Linked DNA regions of Homo sapiens: all the other regions are linked to region 5. Evidence: promoter capture Hi-C in 16 types of primary human blood cells and fetal thymus (Javierre and others, 2016). All regions are on one chromosome and are shown on one strand. Each heading gives the region's core, a stretch centred on a gene start or on the middle of the fragment in contact. The rest is flanking DNA. Distances are from core to core; before and after follow the strand shown. Region 1 overlaps RNLS (renalase, FAD dependent amine oxidase). Region 2 overlaps RNLS (renalase, FAD dependent amine oxidase). Region 3 overlaps RNLS (renalase, FAD dependent amine oxidase). Region 4 overlaps RNLS (renalase, FAD dependent amine oxidase). Region 5 holds the start of KLLN (killin, p53 regulated DNA replication inhibitor). Region 6 overlaps RNLS (renalase, FAD dependent amine oxidase).

Region 1 (2,848 bases), core at 223-2,722, 630 kb before region 5:
TTGGAAATTTTCGGTTCTTTTCTCATAATATAATCCCCTGAGGGAACCCAGTTTTACAACTTGAAGATCTTATCAATTCCTTAATTCCTGGGGTTTTAATTACTGGCTTGGATTCATACAGTCTTGTCTATAACCACTCTGTCTGTTGGGTAATTGCTCTCTACCTTTCATAGATAATTTCAAATTGTTTTCCCTTACAAGTGTTTTTCTGGGGTACTTCTCCCCTTCCAGAAGCTGCATAAATGTTCTCTCCCCTCTTCCTTCTGTCCCCTTTGCCTTCTGCAACCCATATGGAAAGCAAAACAGACAAGTTAAAAATGTTTGTCTTATTTCCCTTTTTGTCTTCTGCATCCCCAACCACGACTTTTTAAAGCTGCCTTCCTCTATCCTGCCCCAGTTTTTCAAATATGTTCTGTCTTTTTTTCTTTCAAAATTCCCACTTGAAGCCGACACCTGACACTCACCAAAATCCTGAACCAAAAGAAAAAAATGCTGAGATGCATATTCCTAAATTCGCTCATTTCCAGTCATACTGCCTTTAACCACGGATTCCTTGTCACTTGGGCTTTGCCCTAGCTAAACCCAAACCAGTTTTCCATATCCCTTCCATTTCTCATCCCATCCCTGCCCCACTCTTCTTTACTCATTCTTATGCTGCCCTCCTCTCAATACACTGCTCTCTCTCATTTCCATTTCTATATTCTCTCCTTCTCTGCAAATTTTCCTCCTCTCTCATCCCCCACTGGTAGCCCTTTTTGATTTCTTTTCAGTATGTTCCACTCACTTAAATGGAGATTACTTTGACATAATCCTTGTGCGGTAATGAGAGCAGATGTATTATATACACTTTTTTACAAAGATAATATCTGAAGCTTGCAAAGTTTAATCTACTTGTCTAACATAATATAACCATTTGCCATAAGAGTTATAGACCCAAAGCCTCCTTGTCATACTTGGTTTATCTAATGATCCCCCCTCCCTCTTGCAGCTAAAGATGGAGATAACAAATTGACTCTATTGACTATTTTTCTCAAGTCATATCAACATCTGTGTGTACCTTTCTTAGAAAGATAACTTTCATATTTTTGCAACAAGTAAAACATGCAATGCTTGGAAAGTCCCTGTACAAAAATCTTTGTCCAGAAGTTGTACCAGTTTATTATTTAACATTGCTTCTTAAAAAAAGAGTGGGATGTTTAACATATCTAAAATTAGGTAATGGAAATAGGATTTGCTGTCATCACTAGGAATTATATCTGTTGTAGGAGAGGTTATAAAAAATATATAGGACATCTTTCCCCTTCAAAGTAGTTGCTGAATTAGAGGCGAATCTAAGTGTCAAACCTGTAAAAATTTGGGGAAGGATGCCTGGACTTTTTCAGACATAGGAAGGAAGTGGCAGTAGTTGAATGTTGTTACTTATTCTCCTGAGTAAAGAATATAGGGACCTCAGAGTAACCCTTGGCTGTTTTCTTGATGTCCTGAAATTTCTGCTGAACTGTTTAATTTAAAAGAACCAAAACTTAAGTCTGGTCTAGAGAAAGGGTTCACCACTAAATTTGGCAGGCACCTATCAGAGTTGCTTCCAAATCACACAATTGGTGAACATTGGTACCACAAGTTGGCCAAGGTCTCTAGGCCCAACTCTAATCCTCTTCTGATATATCTCCTTCACACTGGTAATATTACTCCTTGAAAATAGTTCCTCCACCAGGCTGGTTTTTGAATATGTACCATTCATATTCAGAAAAACTTAACACATAATTTCTGAATAATCTTGAGTCACCTTAGAAACAATGCAATGAATATTTTCTAAAAGTAAGTAGAGGTTCAAGTAAATACTTTAATGAAATGAAAAGAAAATAATAAATATGGTTCCATTACATTACAGAATCTTTTATTAATTTTATTCACTCACATTTAAGCTCTTTACTTATTCTTTTGTTCCCCACTGGCCCAGAAGAGAGACTTGTTCATGGCATGACTGAAGAAAATGTCTTACTGAAAGGATAGGTGAACAAATACTCCATTTATATGCTGATTATTAAGGAAGTGAAAGCCACTAAGCTTTTTCATATTTTCACCATTTTACAAACAGTATGTAACATTTTTCCGTGTAACTTCCTATTGTGGAACTTTCTCTCCTCTGAAGCTAATTACAGTGCTGTTCAAAATCTGAATATCCTCAACTCTTGCTTTCCTTGTTCTTTTCAATATCTGTCATTGTGAATGCATGTGTTTTAACAGAATCCATATGTTTCTTATTTTTATTACCTTATTTTTGTGTGTGTGTCTACTGTGCATATCATGCATGGCTCTTGGCATGCATATCATGACAAAGGATAATCAGTTTTCTTTTAGTTTAATTTTAGAGCCAGGATTTAAGACATCATCGTTTGAATGTCTTCCAGTGTTCTCCATTTTGTTTATGGTCTGCCAATGTTCACAATTGTTCAGGAATGTTTTTATAACCCAGTCGTCAGCAGTGGTAGAAAGCACCACTGACAGATGCAGCTCTGAATGACTTTACATCCCCCATCATATAAAAGGAAACAATCACAGTAGTTGAGATTTGTGCCTCTTAAGCTGTTGACCTTACAGTGAAAAAGCAAAGAGAGGGAGAAGGAGAGAGAGAAATGGAAGGGAAACTGTATTCTCCTACAATTTAAAAAAGCCCCTAAGTTCATAGATCTATCCCTGCAACAATGTAATACAGCAATCTTGAGCTGATTTATAAAATGACAAGAACAAATAGATCACTCATTTTTTAAAAAGTAAATTGTCAGGAAAAAAATGAGAAACTTTCAAATTAGAAAATTATCTAGGAGAGGGCAATTTGCTGAGTGTT
Region 2 (2,977 bases), core at 308-2,807, 670 kb before region 5:
ATAACACCCCTGTGAGGGAGGTACCACTATTATACCCAGTATATGGCCAAGGAAACAGGCTCAGAGAAGTGAAATCACTTATGTGGTATTGCACCTATTGTTAGGTATCAGAGCCAGGCTTCAAACTCAGGCCTGTCTGATTGGAAAGTCCATGCTCCTTATCACCTCTAGATACCATCTCTCAGATCTCTCAATTCTATTTTATTTTACTGAGATGGAGGATATTTCATCTTCAAAATCTTAGCATTATCTTTTATTCTTCTCTCTACTTTCTCTTTATTTCTTTAATAGCCTTTAAGTCATCTTATTTCTTTGCAGATTTCTTTCTAAGAAAAGGTTCATCTGAGATATGCCATTTCCACTTTCAACCTTCCCTAGAATCCTAGCTGTGGTTCCTCTTGACTTGAGTTACTGAGATAGTTTCTCAACACTTTCTTCTACTCTAGTTTATTATTTCTATCATTTGACTCTTCAAGCACTACTCTCATTTTGTATTTCCCCTGACCCAAACTTCAGCTGTAGGGACTCATTATTGTTTATTTTATCAGTAATGAGTCCTACTACCTAGGTTTTTTTTATCTTTTTTTTTCCAACTTTTAAGTTCAGGGGTACATGTGCAGGATGTGCAGGTTTGTTACGTAGGTAAACGTGTGCCATGGTGGTTTGCTGAACAGATCATCCCATCTCCTAGGTATTAAGCCCAGCATCCATTAACTATTCTTCCTGATGTTCTCCCTCCCCCAACCCCTCCCCCACTACCTGGCTTTTAAAACCTTCTGTATAATAAGTCCTTCTTCCCTCTCCCGTTTCCAACCTATACAACTACTCCCAGACTGCCTTCTTGGTTTCAGTCAACCTGATTTTATCTCTGCTTTGTTCACTACCCTCCTCTCACCACACATACTCACTTATACACATTACACACTTGTGTTTGTTCCATTGTTTGTCTTTAATCCTGTCTCCTCCTAGAATGGGAAAATAACAATACTTACAGTAAGAAATAGCAGTAACCATTTATTGAGAACTATGTGAAAAACACTGTCATGATTTTTAATATTACTTTATTTAATCCTCATGTTATATAGATATTATTGCCCCAATTGATCAAAACTTTTTAATTATGAAATGTTACAAATGTATTTTTAAAAACCCATGAACAATATAACTGACACTCAGGGACCCGTCTCTCATATTTATTTATGTAAAGTATTTGCCATTTTTGCTTTGATTTTTTCTGTCTCCAAGGTTTAGGATTAGGTGACTTGCTCAAGTCACACTGCTACTAAATGACAGTGCTTATATTTGAACCCAGCTGATACCTGACTGTCTGTTAGTGTCCATGTAAATGTCTCCCTCCAACTCCCACATTTCCTATTTATTTCAAGGTCTCATCTCCTCCAGATGATGTTTCCTCACAGGATTCTATCCTGCTTTTGGTCCTTTCTAAGAATACAAGTTGAGATTTATTCATTTAGCCAACAAATATTTATGAAGCCTTTTTAGAGTCCAGGAACTATACTGTTATCTTTTCATGGCTTGTGTAATTCTCAACACAGCCTATGATGGAATTGCTGATACTGATTTCATTGACACAAGAGGAATCCACGGTTTAGAGATTAAACCACTTCTTCAGTACTATTAGGGGTTCAAGCTAGCACCAATCTCAGGTGTATCTGACTCTCAAGCCAATGCTTTTAATAACTTCTAAAATCTTTATTTATTGAAGAATAATTTTTTATTATTTCTTATAATTGTAGTTAGTATGAAATGCCAGCTCAGAGCAATTCCCTATTTCAAGCCTCTGCTGTCTCCTATTTTAAAAGGTGAGGATGTTCATGTCCAGAGGATTTATATGACCAGTATTAGGTCACACAGCTACACAGGGGAGCCAAGGGTAGAACTCTTGCTAAATGTTGCCTAATTCAGGGCTTCTATGTTACATAATGCTGCAGGTCTCCAGTCCATAAAACAAATTTAAACCACTTTTGTTTGTCCTTTGCTAAATCATTCTCTTAAAGGCCATCCCCAGTGACCTCCTCATCATGACATCTAAATTAGCCTATAGTCTGCCTTCCTTGTTTCAGTGCCTTCTTTATAAATTTCTTCTTCCCTTAGCTAATCAGGATTGAAACTCTCCTTGTTCTACTTCTAACTCTAATCACACCTTCTCTTCCTTCTTTGTTAGTTATTTCTTCTCTCTCCTCCTAAAATATAGGCAATTTTCAAGGCTTTGTCTTGGACCTTCGTTTTCGTTGCTCCCTTCATTAGCAATTTCATCTACCCCAAGGCTTTCCGTGCTGAAGATTTCAAATCTTTATTTTTAGACTGATTTCTCCTCCAAGATTTAGACCTAGGGTTTAGACTATTTGTGGGATTCTACTTGTGTATGGTTACTTTAGACATCACTGTCCTCACCAAACCTGTTTCTCTCTTCATGTTCAGTGCAGTGTCACTCCCTGTCTTGTCATTCTGTCTGTCAGAATCCCCTGCTTCCCTTACCTCTTGCCTGCACTTCTATAGAAGCCCTTTAAGGGATCTGCCTATCGTTAGTCAAATCCCACTTCACTCCATCCTCACAACTGAAACTAAAGTACTATTCCTAACAGTACCTTAGGTAATTTTGCTCTCCTGTGCAAATAAACTTTGAGGGGTTCCCCAGTGCTTATGGACTAAAATTGGGTCTTCAAAACCCTTTTAAAAATCTGATTTCAACTGACCTTTAAGGTCAAATCAAAGTATTTCTTTTCTTCTTGACATGTCTATATGTTTCCATTTCTGTATCTTTTTTCTAACACTGTTTTTTTCTTTAGAAAGTATTTCCATGTTTCTGTTAAGACTCAGTTCATCCTTCAAGGCTGCCTCCTTTTATCCTTTTATTCTATCCTCAGCCAAAAGTAATACTTGGTGGTGCTCTTTAACCAATGATGATTTGTACTAAAGAAAAGGCCAAGCTGTGGCCAACATTTCTTAATAAATA
Region 3 (2,850 bases), core at 117-2,616, 710 kb before region 5:
ATTATTTGTCTGGGATATGCCTAATCAGGCATGCTTTAGAATAGGTTCAAACCTTTAAAGCCAATATTTAACTAGACCAATTTCCCAGAACAAATAGTAAAAGGTAAAGGAAATAGATGCTTTCTTCTTGACCTTATGTTCTATTTTAATTTATTGTCCGATGTGTTCACATTAACCTCATTGCAGAGAAAGCTGTATTTATTGGCATCAATTTCACTGACTGCCTGCCTTCTCCATTAATACAATCTTCTTGAGTGAGTGAAACATGATTTTCTTTTGTTCTTTTTTTATACTAGTTGTCATTATGCTGGGGTGAGAATTGACAATAGCAAAAGTGATTCTAGCTATCAGTTATTAAGTGCTGACTATTTATCTAATACTACCTGAGGTACTTTACGTATGTAGTTTCTAATTCTCACAGTAAATTTTCAAGGGAGTTAATCATCATCCCTATTTGTTAATGCGAAGAATGAGACTCAGGTACTTTGTCTAAGGTGGCTTGGCTAGTTGGTAACAGAACTGAAGTGCCTTTGCAATTAATCATGTTGTTTTTTTCTATTAAGTCTCTCATGGAGGGCAATGAGAGGTGCTCATACTCTCCAATTTAACATCTATTTTGTAGAGCCTTCTCTTTCCTTATTGATTATTTTCCTATAGTATGAAGATTGTACCCATCCCACCTGGTGCTACGTGTCAGTAGACACATGGTTCAATAGAACAACCTCATAGTTCCCTGTGCCCCTAGTTTCCCTCTTTCATCAGTTAATTCCTGACATAGGGGGAAGTGGATATTGAAGAGTAATACCACCTTAGTTCTTTATGCAACCTGGGAAATTGGTCACCTGATGGTTCCTGCCTATGACATGGAAAATGATGGGCCAGGTCCTTTTGCTTTTGAATAAGGTCCCATGTTACTAAATTATTCAAAAAAGATGAATTTAGCTTCCAGGACACAGAGTGAGCAGCTTTTATTTAGCTTGTCCTACCAATAGGGAGGGCTGTTGCTGCATTTATTTGTTTTTATTTTATCATCTACCTAAAAAGGACATTGGCTAGCGATCCAGAAAGTCAACATTTGCAAAGTAACCTGTCAAAATTGACAAGATCAATTTATTAGAAAAAAATGGTTTAGGTGGCAGATGCCATTAGCTAGGATGGCTTCTGTATTGTAATATTTACTTTTATTATTCTCTCTCTTTTTACTTTTGTGCCTATTTTCTTTCTAAAATTGATAGAGGGGAAGTGAGTCTGGGTGGTTCTGTCTCAAAATTTCTCCCAGCAGGTGATCCTGGCACTCATCCGTAACGATGTCCTTTTTAGAGAAGCTAGAGGATGGCATGAAAACCAGGTTAAGCATTCTTCTATTTACTTCAAGCTGTGTAGTCAGTTAGAGATGGTTCACATCACTTCAGGTCCCACCTGAGCAGTTCTGACTGCTGCTCACTAAAACCTATTTGTGGGAAATCATAGGAGAAACATAAACTTGGATTTTCTCCTTAAAATGGAGGAAGGCCAGGGATAAAATTGAATAAATATATAACAGAAACACATTTGCCTTTGTAAAATGTTTAAACCTTCTTAGACTTCTGATATCTTTATAGCTATCTGAAGATCATTTTATTCTAATTAAATATTATGTGCTGGGGAAACAAAAGTCAATAAGAGACATGATCCTGGCCTCTGTTAATGTAGAGTATAGTGGGAAGAAAAGACATTAAACTAATTATACATACAAAGAAAAGATGCATGATAAATGTTAAGAAGAAAGAGTGAGAGCATTATGAGAGAACTTACAATAAAAGGACCTAGCCCAGTAGGTTTTAGAGGAGTGATGGGGGAGATGTGTTAGGGAAAGCATCCCTGAGGAACTGATATTTTCATGGGTACCTGAAAGGTGGGCAAGAGGGAATTAGGCTGAGAGCTGAATGATGAGAGTTCAATGCAGTGGACACATCAAATTGGAACTGTTTTGAAGCAGTAGGAGGAGGTTAGTGCATTCAAGGAATAAAAGATCATTATGACTGGACGGTAGTGAGTGAGGGAGAAAATGGTAAAAGATGATGCTCAAGACTAAGGCAGGGCCAGGTTATACAGGGCTTTGTAAGCAATGTTAAAGATTTTATACTCTAAGTGCGATGGGAAGCCATTGAAGGGTTTTATGCAAGAGAGGGACATGGTCAAATTTACTAAGCTCAGACATAACTCTTGAGACTATTTATTTATCCATTTTAAAATTGGGTTTTTCAGAGCTTATAGATTTAAACACATAGTCTTTGTGAAAGTTATTAATTACTTTCACAAGGAAATGCCACTTTCCCAAAAACTTTGCTCCAAGCAGTTGGAAAGGAAGCCTTTCTGGTTAATAAGAGAGGCTATACCATTTCTCCTACCTCTTGATAAATGCTGCTTTTTGGGTGGTTTTGCCAGTGGTGTTTGATTTGGGCGTGTCCACCTACCCCAGTGGTTCTCATACTTTAGCGCGCATCATGACAAGACTAAGGGAGCTTGTTAAACATGGATTGCGAGGCTCAATTCCCAGAGTTTCTTATTCAGTATGGTCGGGTTGGGGCCCAGGAATGTGCATTTTCTAGTACATAGGTGCTGCTGGTCTGGGGTTCATACTTAGAGAACCACTGACATATATATATATACACACACACACACACATATACATATACACCTTGGTGTATATATATGTGTATATATATATATATATATACACACACATATATATATAGTATATATATATAATATGTGTGTGTGTGTGTGTGTGTATATATATATATATATATATATATATATATATATACTTTGCAGAACACCTTGTGGCCATTGGGATACATTTTCAAG
Region 4 (2,700 bases), core at 30-2,529, 530 kb before region 5:
GTGCATTCAGACGAACGAATATTAAAAACTTCCTTAGGTCCTCAAAGAAGGGCCTTGACATCTTTCCTTAGTGAGCTGGTCCAATGTTCTAAATCCTCTGAGCAGGATCCCTGTGGTGTGTGACCCAGATAGCGTCCCAGAGACTTTCACTTTATTTCCTTGTGAAGACACGTGAAAGCTGCTTTATCAAGGAGTCACTAAGTCTGGTCACAACACAGTTTCAAGGAACCAACACTGGGACACTTACCATTTTGATGATTTTATCAGCTTTGATGGTGAGCCTAATTACAAAAGTCCTATCAAATGAATATCCACTGGTTCTTGATAGACCACAACCAAATTGTATTTCCCCCTTGTGTTCCTAGCTATTTATGAATATTGTTGCAAATGCTGTAATTGCCATCACCTTCTTCTGACTTTCTCAATATAATACCTAATTAGTCAGTGTCAGTGTTGCCAGATGATATGAAATGCTGTGGCTTCTGGCCCTCATTTTCTAATGGATTTGGAATTGTATGTATTTATGTCATTGCTCTTCCTTTATAGCAACTACATGCCCTATCCCTGAATCTGTAAATATTCTGAGGCAGGTATATCTTGTAGTCCCCCAATAGCAAGAGTACCCTGCTTATAGTTTTTGGACATTTGTATTTAATGTTGCTCCTTTTATTTCTGTATGCATTCTCACTAGATAGGGCTTTAGCTTTAAAAACTGTGCGAATTTCATTCCACCAGAGGGCACCATGGTAAACTTCACTTTCAAAAGGATCCTTAACAACTCAGTTAAGAAATCCCTAAAAGGATCCTTAACAACTCAGTTAAGAAATCCCTAAAACCGAAATATTGAAACAAATGAATGTAATTAAAGCAGCAATACCTTTGACCAAGATATTTATTCCATCGTGACTTTTAAATCTCTATAGAATGATTCATTTTGCTAAGGGTATGTTAATCACTCTCAAGCACAACTTTGACAAATCAAAAATAGATAGCAGGCTTTATTATGGCCAATGTGTGAGCTCCACAGACTGTCAAAAAAAGAAAACAACAATAACAAAAAAAAACCCAGCACAGTTCTGTTAGGAGACATACCTCTCCTTTTCTGGCTCCAAAAGAGAATGAATGCTTTTTGAATCCTAGGAGGTAAACCAATATCGTAATTTCCTACATGCTACAAAATAGCCATCTTTAGTAAAGCTCCAATTTCAGGGTGGATTTTAATTGTTTACTACTAATAAACCTTGGGAGTTAATTTATACCATCCCTCAAGTCCCAACACAAACAGATTCCCTTTTCCAGAACTCATGGTGGCAAGATTCCATAGAACTCCCCAGATGATGGCAGCTACTATCAGAGCTCTCAACTCTGACAGGAATTAACAAATAACAGGTTACAAACAGGAAACACAGTGTCTCATATCCATGGCTCCACTGATGCATGGTACTATGTAACATGTAGGGTATGTTAATTCCCTGATATTTATTCACTTATTCATTCGACACATAGTTATTGAGTATCTCCTGTGTACCACGTTGTAAGCTCTGGGGATACAGTGATGAGGGCAATTGACCTGATCCTTGTCTTAATGGAGTTTGATTACTAGTAGGGGGAAGTCATATAAAAAGACGATGATAAACAAGGAATCAAATAAAAACATAAGTAATTTCAGTTTGAGAGGTCACAGAAAGTTAATAAAAAGGTTCTATGAGAATGAAGGGAACTCTCACACAGCTTGTGAGAGTAGGACTGTCTGTGTAGATAGCATGAGATAGGAGAAAGAGCTAGCCATGTGATAACATGGAGACAGGGACCAGCAAAATATTTAAGTCTCTTCAGCTGGAAAGACTGTGCTGTGTTCTGATAACAAAAAGGAGGCCTCCATAGCTAGAACAGTGAGTCCTAGGCAGAGTGAGGCAAATTAAACTGGGGCCAGATCCTGGGAAGGATTTTGAATTATTCTCAGGCATGTTTTAAGCAGGATGGCATAGTCCAGAGAATGGATTTCAAGGGAAGGAGGCAAGAGCTGGGGAAGACAGGGTGCCAGAAAGTATTGAAACCAAATAGCAAGTTATTGCAGTGGCTCAGAAGGAGAAAACAATGGTGATTATGGAGATGAACAGAGTAGCCTTATTCAAGGTGTGTTTTAGAAGTAGAATCTACAGGACTTGCTGATAAATTAAACATGGAAAGAAAATTAAGACAAAGATGACTTACAGGTTCTTAGCTTGAGCAACTGGGTGAATGGTTATGTTGTCGACTAAGCCTGAGGAAGGAACAGCTTTCAAGGATAGATGGAAGGAATAATTAGGTATCCAACTTCTACGTGTTAAATGAAAGGCGACTGTGATACACCCCAGGGAAATATATTCAGGACTGCCCTCTGAGCCCTCTAGACATAGGTTTCATTTGTACCACAACCATCTCCCCTTCCAAATACCCACAGAGATGTTTCCTATATCTATGTTTTCAAGGTGTGTGGTCGTGAAGAACAGGGAGCCCTTCACTCCTGTCTGCATTGCCCGCTAAACTACAGGCTGACGTGCCTTCTGATTTTCTTTTCTGCTGTCAGAGCATTTGCTTCCCTCTGTCCTACAGGACAACTCTAAATCATTATCTCCACAACACCTGCTCCATATCAAAAGTGTTAGATTTTTAGCCAGAAGACATGCACTATTTTTCTTACTAGCTGGGTGACCTGGG
Region 5 (2,851 bases), core at 319-2,818:
ACTGAAAATGATTCTGCTTCTAAAGTTATGCAAATCAGTCATATTTTAAAAGAATCTATCAATGCAACTCAGGAAACTAAAACAATCACTGCAAGATTCTGATGCAATATGCGTACGTGCAACACTAATTTTCATTTTATTCTGATCTAAACCCTTGATCTAGGGCCTAAGCCAAGATTTAATCGAAATATGCTCAACCTCAAAAAGCGTCTACTTTTTTGTTCATTTAGGAGACCGGATTACCGAGCTCGCTAATCCACTAACAGTGTACTGTATTCTGTATTAACGGACAATAGCCCTCAGGAAGAGACCATATAGATAGCCTAAGAAAGCAATCGGTGGCTTGACACTTGCAACCAGGCAAGAGTTCCGTCTAGCCAAACACACCCTAGGTTGAATACACAGAAAGGAAACACAAAATATATGACCTAGCAACCTGACCAGGGTTAAATGTTATAGTCACCCAAACTACGGACATTTTCGCATCCGTCTACTCCCACGTTCTAAGAGAGTGACAGAAAGGTAAAGAGGAGCAGCCGCAGAAATGGATACAGGTCAAGTCTAAGTCGAATCCATCCTCTTGATATCTCCTTTTGTTTCTGCTAACGATCTCTTTGATGATGGCTGTCATGTCTGGGAGCCTGTGGCTGAAGAAAAAGGAGGAGAGAGATGGCAGAAGCTGCTGGTGGCGGGGCTTCTTCTGCAGGATGGAAATGGCTCTGGACTTGGCGGTAGCTGATGCCCCTCGCTCTGCCGCCGCTTGGCTCTGGACCGCAGCCGGGTAATGGCTGCTGCGGCGGCTGCTGGATGGTTGCAGCGACTGGGCCTGCTTCTCCTCAGCAGCCAGAGGCCTGGCAGCGGCGGCAGCGGAATGGGGAGAAGACGAATAATCCTCCGAACGGCTGCCTCCGCCGGCGGCCTCCGGAGCCCGGGCCACGGGGGGTGCGGCGGCGGCGCACGGGAGGTTTAAAACCGGCCCGGGTCCCTGGATGTGCCAGCCGCCGCCGCCGCCGTGTTGGAGGCAGTAGAAGGGGAGAGACCAACTCTCCGGCGTTCCCAGCCCTGGAAATGGTGACAGGCGACTCAGACCCCCTCCCTGGAGCTGCAGCCGCCGCGGCCGCCGCCGCCGCCGCTTCTCCCCCCCGCTCCAGGAGCGGGAGGTGCCGCCGCCGCCGCCGCGCCTCAGCCGGCTCCCGCCCGAGCCCACGGCTTCCACCTTCCCTTTCAGGAGAAGCCGAGGAAGAGGCTGCACGGTTAGAAAAGACGAAGAGGAGGCGAGAAACGCCGCCGCTGCCGCCGCCGCAGGCCGGCCGGCTCCCCGAGGGCGCTGCCCCCGCGGCTGCTCACAGGCGCTGAGAGGGGCTCCGGGCCGCGGCCGCCGCCGTCTCTCATCTCCCTCGCCTGAGCCCGGCCTCGCCTCACAGCGGCTCAACTCTCAAACTTCCATCATGGCTGCAGCTTCCGAGAGGAGAGAACTGAGCGCAGTCGCGTCCCAGCGCCGAGCGCGTATCCTGCCGCAGCGCATAAAGAGTCCCGCCACATCACCGCCCGCCGGCCTGCCCGCCCCCTCCGCCGCCGCGCCGGGAGCCCGGGCGCCTCGGAAGACCGAGGGGAGGCGGGAGGCGAGCGAGAGGCGGACGGGACCGCGCCGGGCGAGGGGAGGGCAGGGCAGGGCAGGGGGCGGTAGGAGGGGGCAGAGCGGTAGCTCTGGGTGCGAGCGCAGAGTCCCCAAGCCGCAGGCTCTACTGAGCATGCCCAGTGTAGCTGCCTGGGGCTTGCTCGGGCCGGTTCCCAGCCGCCAGCCTGCAGCTGCACTTGCTGCGGCTTTTGCAGCAACGCGAGGCGAGGATAACGAGCTAAGCCTCGGCCTCTGCCCAGAAACCCAGCCGGAGGCAGGGTAGGCTGTTGTGGGGCGGGGGTGGAGGACTGATGATGAAAGCTGAGATGGGTGCGTTGAGCAGTGTCACTGACTCGAGTCTGAGGTTACCTGTGCACAGGTGAAAAGGACCAGGTGACCACGCTGCTCAGTGTAGAGGGAAATGCAGGGACGGTCCCTGCAAGGGGAATACCCTCCCCCCTTGCCTCTACCCCTAGATTTCCGCGGCGTGGACTGCATTCGCTCTTTCCTTTTGCACCGCTGTCGGATCACAATCGTTCGCAGAGATTTGACTGTAACAGCCTTTGCCTAGAGATTCCCCCTTCCCCCAAATCTGTGTCCTCATGGTGTCAGTCTTAGCACAAAGAGCAACCTGCTATTGTGTCGCCAGCGTGTATCACCTCATCCGGCTCCCTTGCAGCGCCCCACCTCTCGCTTCCCCGGTAACTCGGCTCGTTTGCCCTAAAAATGAAAGCTCTCAGCCGAGCGTGCTGAACGTGAACACATAGCCGTTGAATTTCAAGGGCCCAAAGGGCACCTATCTAAATGAACTGAAAGAGGATCCCTGTGAGTGGGACGCACCCCGCAGGCCTCTCCTGCGCCCGCTCCGGTGCCCCCAAGAGAGTCGAGCATCTTTCCCCTCGGGCTCCAGGTCGGTTCGCGGCGTCGGAGTCAAGCTCGGTTCTCAGAGACCACCTAGCCCCGCCCCCCCTTGGCCGCCGTGAAAACCCGGCAGGATGGATCGCCCGGGGCCAGGCTCCGCGCGCCCCGGCCGGACCGTGCACGTTTGGGGTTACCGGGTTGAGTGGAAAGTACGGAACGGTAGGAAGCTGCAGCCCAGCGAGTGGGCGGGGCGAGGAGACCTAGGAGGGTTCAAAAGGAGGTGGAAGGATACACGGGCCACAGTCGGAACTACTTTCCGAAGGAGGTCACGTGTGTCCCTAGTTGGGGAACTTTCCAAATTCCCACTCCCCA
Region 6 (2,757 bases), core at 116-2,615, 560 kb before region 5:
TTTCCACTCTACTGTCTCCTAGTAAAGGCAACATAGTACAAAGAAAACGTAAGCATATCTAAGCTGTCTCTGCTACTCAGCTTTTTGACTGGGAGGAACTTACTTAACCATGCTGTAGTTCAGTTGCTTCCTATATGAAGTGAGATCATAAGCCATGGATCATTCTGAGAACAACATGAGTTACTATAAAGTATGTCAAATGCACAGCATATGGAAGATATCCAATCAACATCATTTGTATCTTTTCCCTTTAATGACTTTAAGAATATGACTGATTTCTCTCTGTTCTATGGAGTTGTTGATACATTTTCCTTTATTTGTATCAAATAGTAAGTAGATTTTTATTTGGCCACCAGAATTCAACAGGAATAATGCAATCTCCAATTCCTGTACTATAGTTGATTATGGTTTTCTGTTCTTTGAACTTGAAAAGAGATATGATTTTCATGCCTGCATCTGGAGTTTACAAGTTGAAATGTGTCAGGTAGGTGAAATATCTTACTTTAAGAGAAAGAGCAGTTAATATGCAAATATTAGATATTGGAAAGAGATCAACAATTGTCCACCCTTGGATGGAGGCAGAGACATGGATTATCCAAAATCTCAAATAATTCTTCTTGTTCTGAAATGCCATAAAGAGCCAGCCACCCTGTCAAAGAAATATAGACTTACCCCTCAATGCCATACCCTGATTCCACTCCAGCACAGTAGGACTTTTGGCATTCTAACAGATCAGTAGAATCCACAAGGCTGATAACCATAAGGTAATTGTAGGGATAATGAGTATAGTGTGGTAGTAAAGATTAGACGCACTAGTCCTTGCTAACTGTGTGAATTGTGATAAAGATTAAACAAACCTCTTTCTATTTAACCACGAATCTCCAATTTTCTTTTTGCAAAATGGTGGTAATAATGGTACCTGTGGGGAGTACCAGACACATATAGATGCTTAATCAATATTAGATACTGTTTTTATTAGTTACTAAAAGGAAACCATTTCCTGTTTATGTAATTCTAACCACCATTACAAAGTAAAATAATGTAGGCTCTTCCCATCAATTTACTCCACCCATTTTAGCTTTTCTTAGGTTTAACTGATCTTTATCTGACATCTTTCTGAGGGCTTCCCCTCCCCATGTACTACTGTTACCCCCTAGGATCTTCACACTTATGAGAAAGCTGTGTTATGTGCTGGTTAAGAACAGGGCTGAACTTGAACCCTGGCTCCTCCTCCTTACTGTCTTTGGTGCCTTGGCCATCTCTAAGAAGGTATGTATGGAAGGGGATAATAATAGTACCTGTCTCATGGGGTTGTTGTGGTAACTGAGTTAATACATGCAAAGCATCTAGAACAGTGCCAGGCAAGTAGTATGTGATCTGTGAGTGATAGCTATGATTAAATGCTAGCAATTAGAAATAACAAAATTTCTTCATCTTTTTTCTCTTCTAAAAACATTTGCTTATTAAGGGGGCCTGACTTCCTCTTGTGAATTTTTTTTCCCTGTATCTCCTCCTTTTCTTTTTCCCAACAGTAAAAAAAGGGGGAATTGGGGGGAATGTTTTCTATATATAACTTACAGCCCTCATAAGTTGTCAGTACAAATGTCCTATGTTACAATATTGAAGACATAAATGATGATGACTCCCTCCTTGGCCTCTATTCTGTGTTTCCCACTATTCACATGAGCCTACTTCATTGGAACAGGATTTTGGTGAACTGCCAAATGTGCCCCAAGTTTGACATGGTATGACCTTCAGTATGGGTTTTAATTCTTGTGTACTTCTCTGTGTTCCACATTAGACTGTGATCTTCTTGAGTACAAAGAGCCATATTCTAATTTCATTGTGTCTACAGCACCTAATACACATACCGCTAAACTGCCATATAACAAACTAAATGAATGAATGAAGTCATATTGAAAGTATACTATTCTAGCCCTCTGTCCAGCAACAGAGTAAACTTCCAAGTTAGTTTTGGGATAATTCTGGAACTTTAAAATTTTCAGGGACACTTGTGCATTCTATTCTAGGTCTTTCTCCCTCCCTAATTTTATCATTCCTGCCACAGTTCATTGACCCCCTACTCCAAACACACTTTGTGTTTTCCTGTATCTGTGCCCTACTCTTACCATTCTTTTTGGAATGTCTTTTTCTACTTATCTGAATCTTTAGCTCACACCTCACATCAACGTTTTTTTCTCTACCCTAAGTGTAAGTCATTTCACCTTTTTCTAACCTTCTATAGCAGCTGATGTCTAAACCAATTAGCTGTCACTTAACACATACAGTTTTGTATTTTTAGCTATCATTTTTAAGAAAAATACTTAAACAGATTTTAAATTCCTTGAGAGCAATGATCATGTCTTATACTTCTGTACCTCATACTAGGTGGAATACCCAATAAATCATTGTTAATGAGGTGGCTTACTCAAAGCCACCTTAGACATACTGCCAGGCAATATAAAACTAAATGCAGCATAATGAAAACATTAATTTGTGGGTAAATAGGAAGATTCATTGTACAGAAACACATTAGGACAAAGACAGAAGTTGCCAGCAGTTTCAACTTTATTAGCTCCTTTTGACTTTTTGCTTTATTTGTATTTGGTTTGATGCATCTTTTAATTTTTGTTTTATTTATGCTTTGGGGCAGGGGTAGTGGGGAAAAGGCATTTAACTTTACTCTAAGTCTAGTTTTATGTACTAACAAAAACTCTACTGAAGAATTGTTTATTTTACAATGAAACATTTCAAAAC

The links. The method cuts DNA at HindIII sites, captures the fragments that hold promoters and counts their contacts. A CHiCAGO score of 5 or more calls a contact.
Region 1: a contact is called between a fragment that was not itself captured here and the fragment with the promoter of KLLN in region 5, in 2 of 17 cell types (total B cells and naive B cells). The highest score is 5.6, in total B cells.
Region 2: a fragment that was not itself captured here is called in contact with the fragment with the promoter of KLLN in region 5 in 5 of 17 cell types (naive B cells, total B cells, fetal thymus and 2 more); the score reaches 8.4 in naive B cells.
Region 3: a contact is called between a fragment that was not itself captured here and the fragment with the promoter of KLLN in region 5, in 4 of 17 cell types (naive B cells, naive CD8 T cells, total B cells and 1 more). The highest score is 8.0, in naive B cells.
Region 4: a fragment that was not itself captured here is called in contact with the fragment with the promoter of KLLN in region 5 in 17 of 17 cell types (naive CD8 T cells, M2 macrophages, naive CD4 T cells and 14 more); the score reaches 35.0 in naive CD8 T cells.
Region 6: a fragment that was not itself captured here is called in contact with the fragment with the promoter of KLLN in region 5 in 2 of 17 cell types (neutrophils and naive B cells); the score reaches 7.3 in neutrophils.

What each region holds. Positions count from the first base shown.
Region 1 is chr10:88,493,489-88,496,336 of GRCh38, reverse strand. The region is part of intron 4 of RNLS (renalase, FAD dependent amine oxidase); the gene reads left to right. Among named protein-coding and RNA genes, the nearest start is that of RNLS, 88 kb to the left of the region's middle. The HindIII fragment of the contact is 1,195 bases long and covers 875-2,069 here.
Region 2 is chr10:88,533,210-88,536,186 of GRCh38, reverse strand. All of the region lies in intron 4 of RNLS (renalase, FAD dependent amine oxidase), which reads left to right. Among named protein-coding and RNA genes, the nearest start is that of RNLS, 49 kb to the left of the region's middle. The HindIII fragment of the contact is 5,160 bases long and covers 1-2,977 here.
Region 3 is chr10:88,575,084-88,577,933 of GRCh38, reverse strand. All of the region lies in intron 3 of RNLS (renalase, FAD dependent amine oxidase), which reads left to right. Among named protein-coding and RNA genes, the nearest start is that of RNLS, 6.8 kb to the left of the region's middle. The HindIII fragment of the contact is 4,346 bases long and covers 1-2,850 here.
Region 4 is chr10:88,387,681-88,390,380 of GRCh38, reverse strand. All of the region lies in intron 4 of RNLS (renalase, FAD dependent amine oxidase), which reads left to right. Among named protein-coding and RNA genes, the nearest start is that of RNLS, 190 kb to the left of the region's middle. The HindIII fragment of the contact is 5,387 bases long and covers 1-2,700 here.
Region 5 is chr10:87,862,250-87,865,100 of GRCh38, reverse strand. KLLN (killin, p53 regulated DNA replication inhibitor) reads left to right here and starts at 1,568. Exons shown (of 1, transcript NM_001126049.2): 1 at 1,568-2,851. The coding sequence starts at 2,614. MLDHR (mitochondrial lactate dehydrogenase regulator) reads right to left here and starts at 1,542. Exons shown (of 1, transcript NM_001433720.1): 1 at 1,447-1,542. The coding sequence starts at 1,542. The coding sequence ends at 1,447. It overlaps PTEN (phosphatase and tensin homolog), which reads right to left and starts at 1,476. Exons shown (of 9, transcript NM_000314.8): 1 at 553-1,476. The coding sequence starts at 631. RefSeq lists silencers at 1,182-1,321, 1,412-1,721 and enhancers at 2,322-2,501, 2,752-2,841. The HindIII fragment of the contact is 7,182 bases long and covers 1-2,851 here.
Region 6 is chr10:88,425,227-88,427,983 of GRCh38, reverse strand. The region is part of intron 4 of RNLS (renalase, FAD dependent amine oxidase); the gene reads left to right. Among named protein-coding and RNA genes, the nearest start is that of RNLS, 160 kb to the left of the region's middle. The HindIII fragment of the contact is 4,896 bases long and covers 1-2,757 here.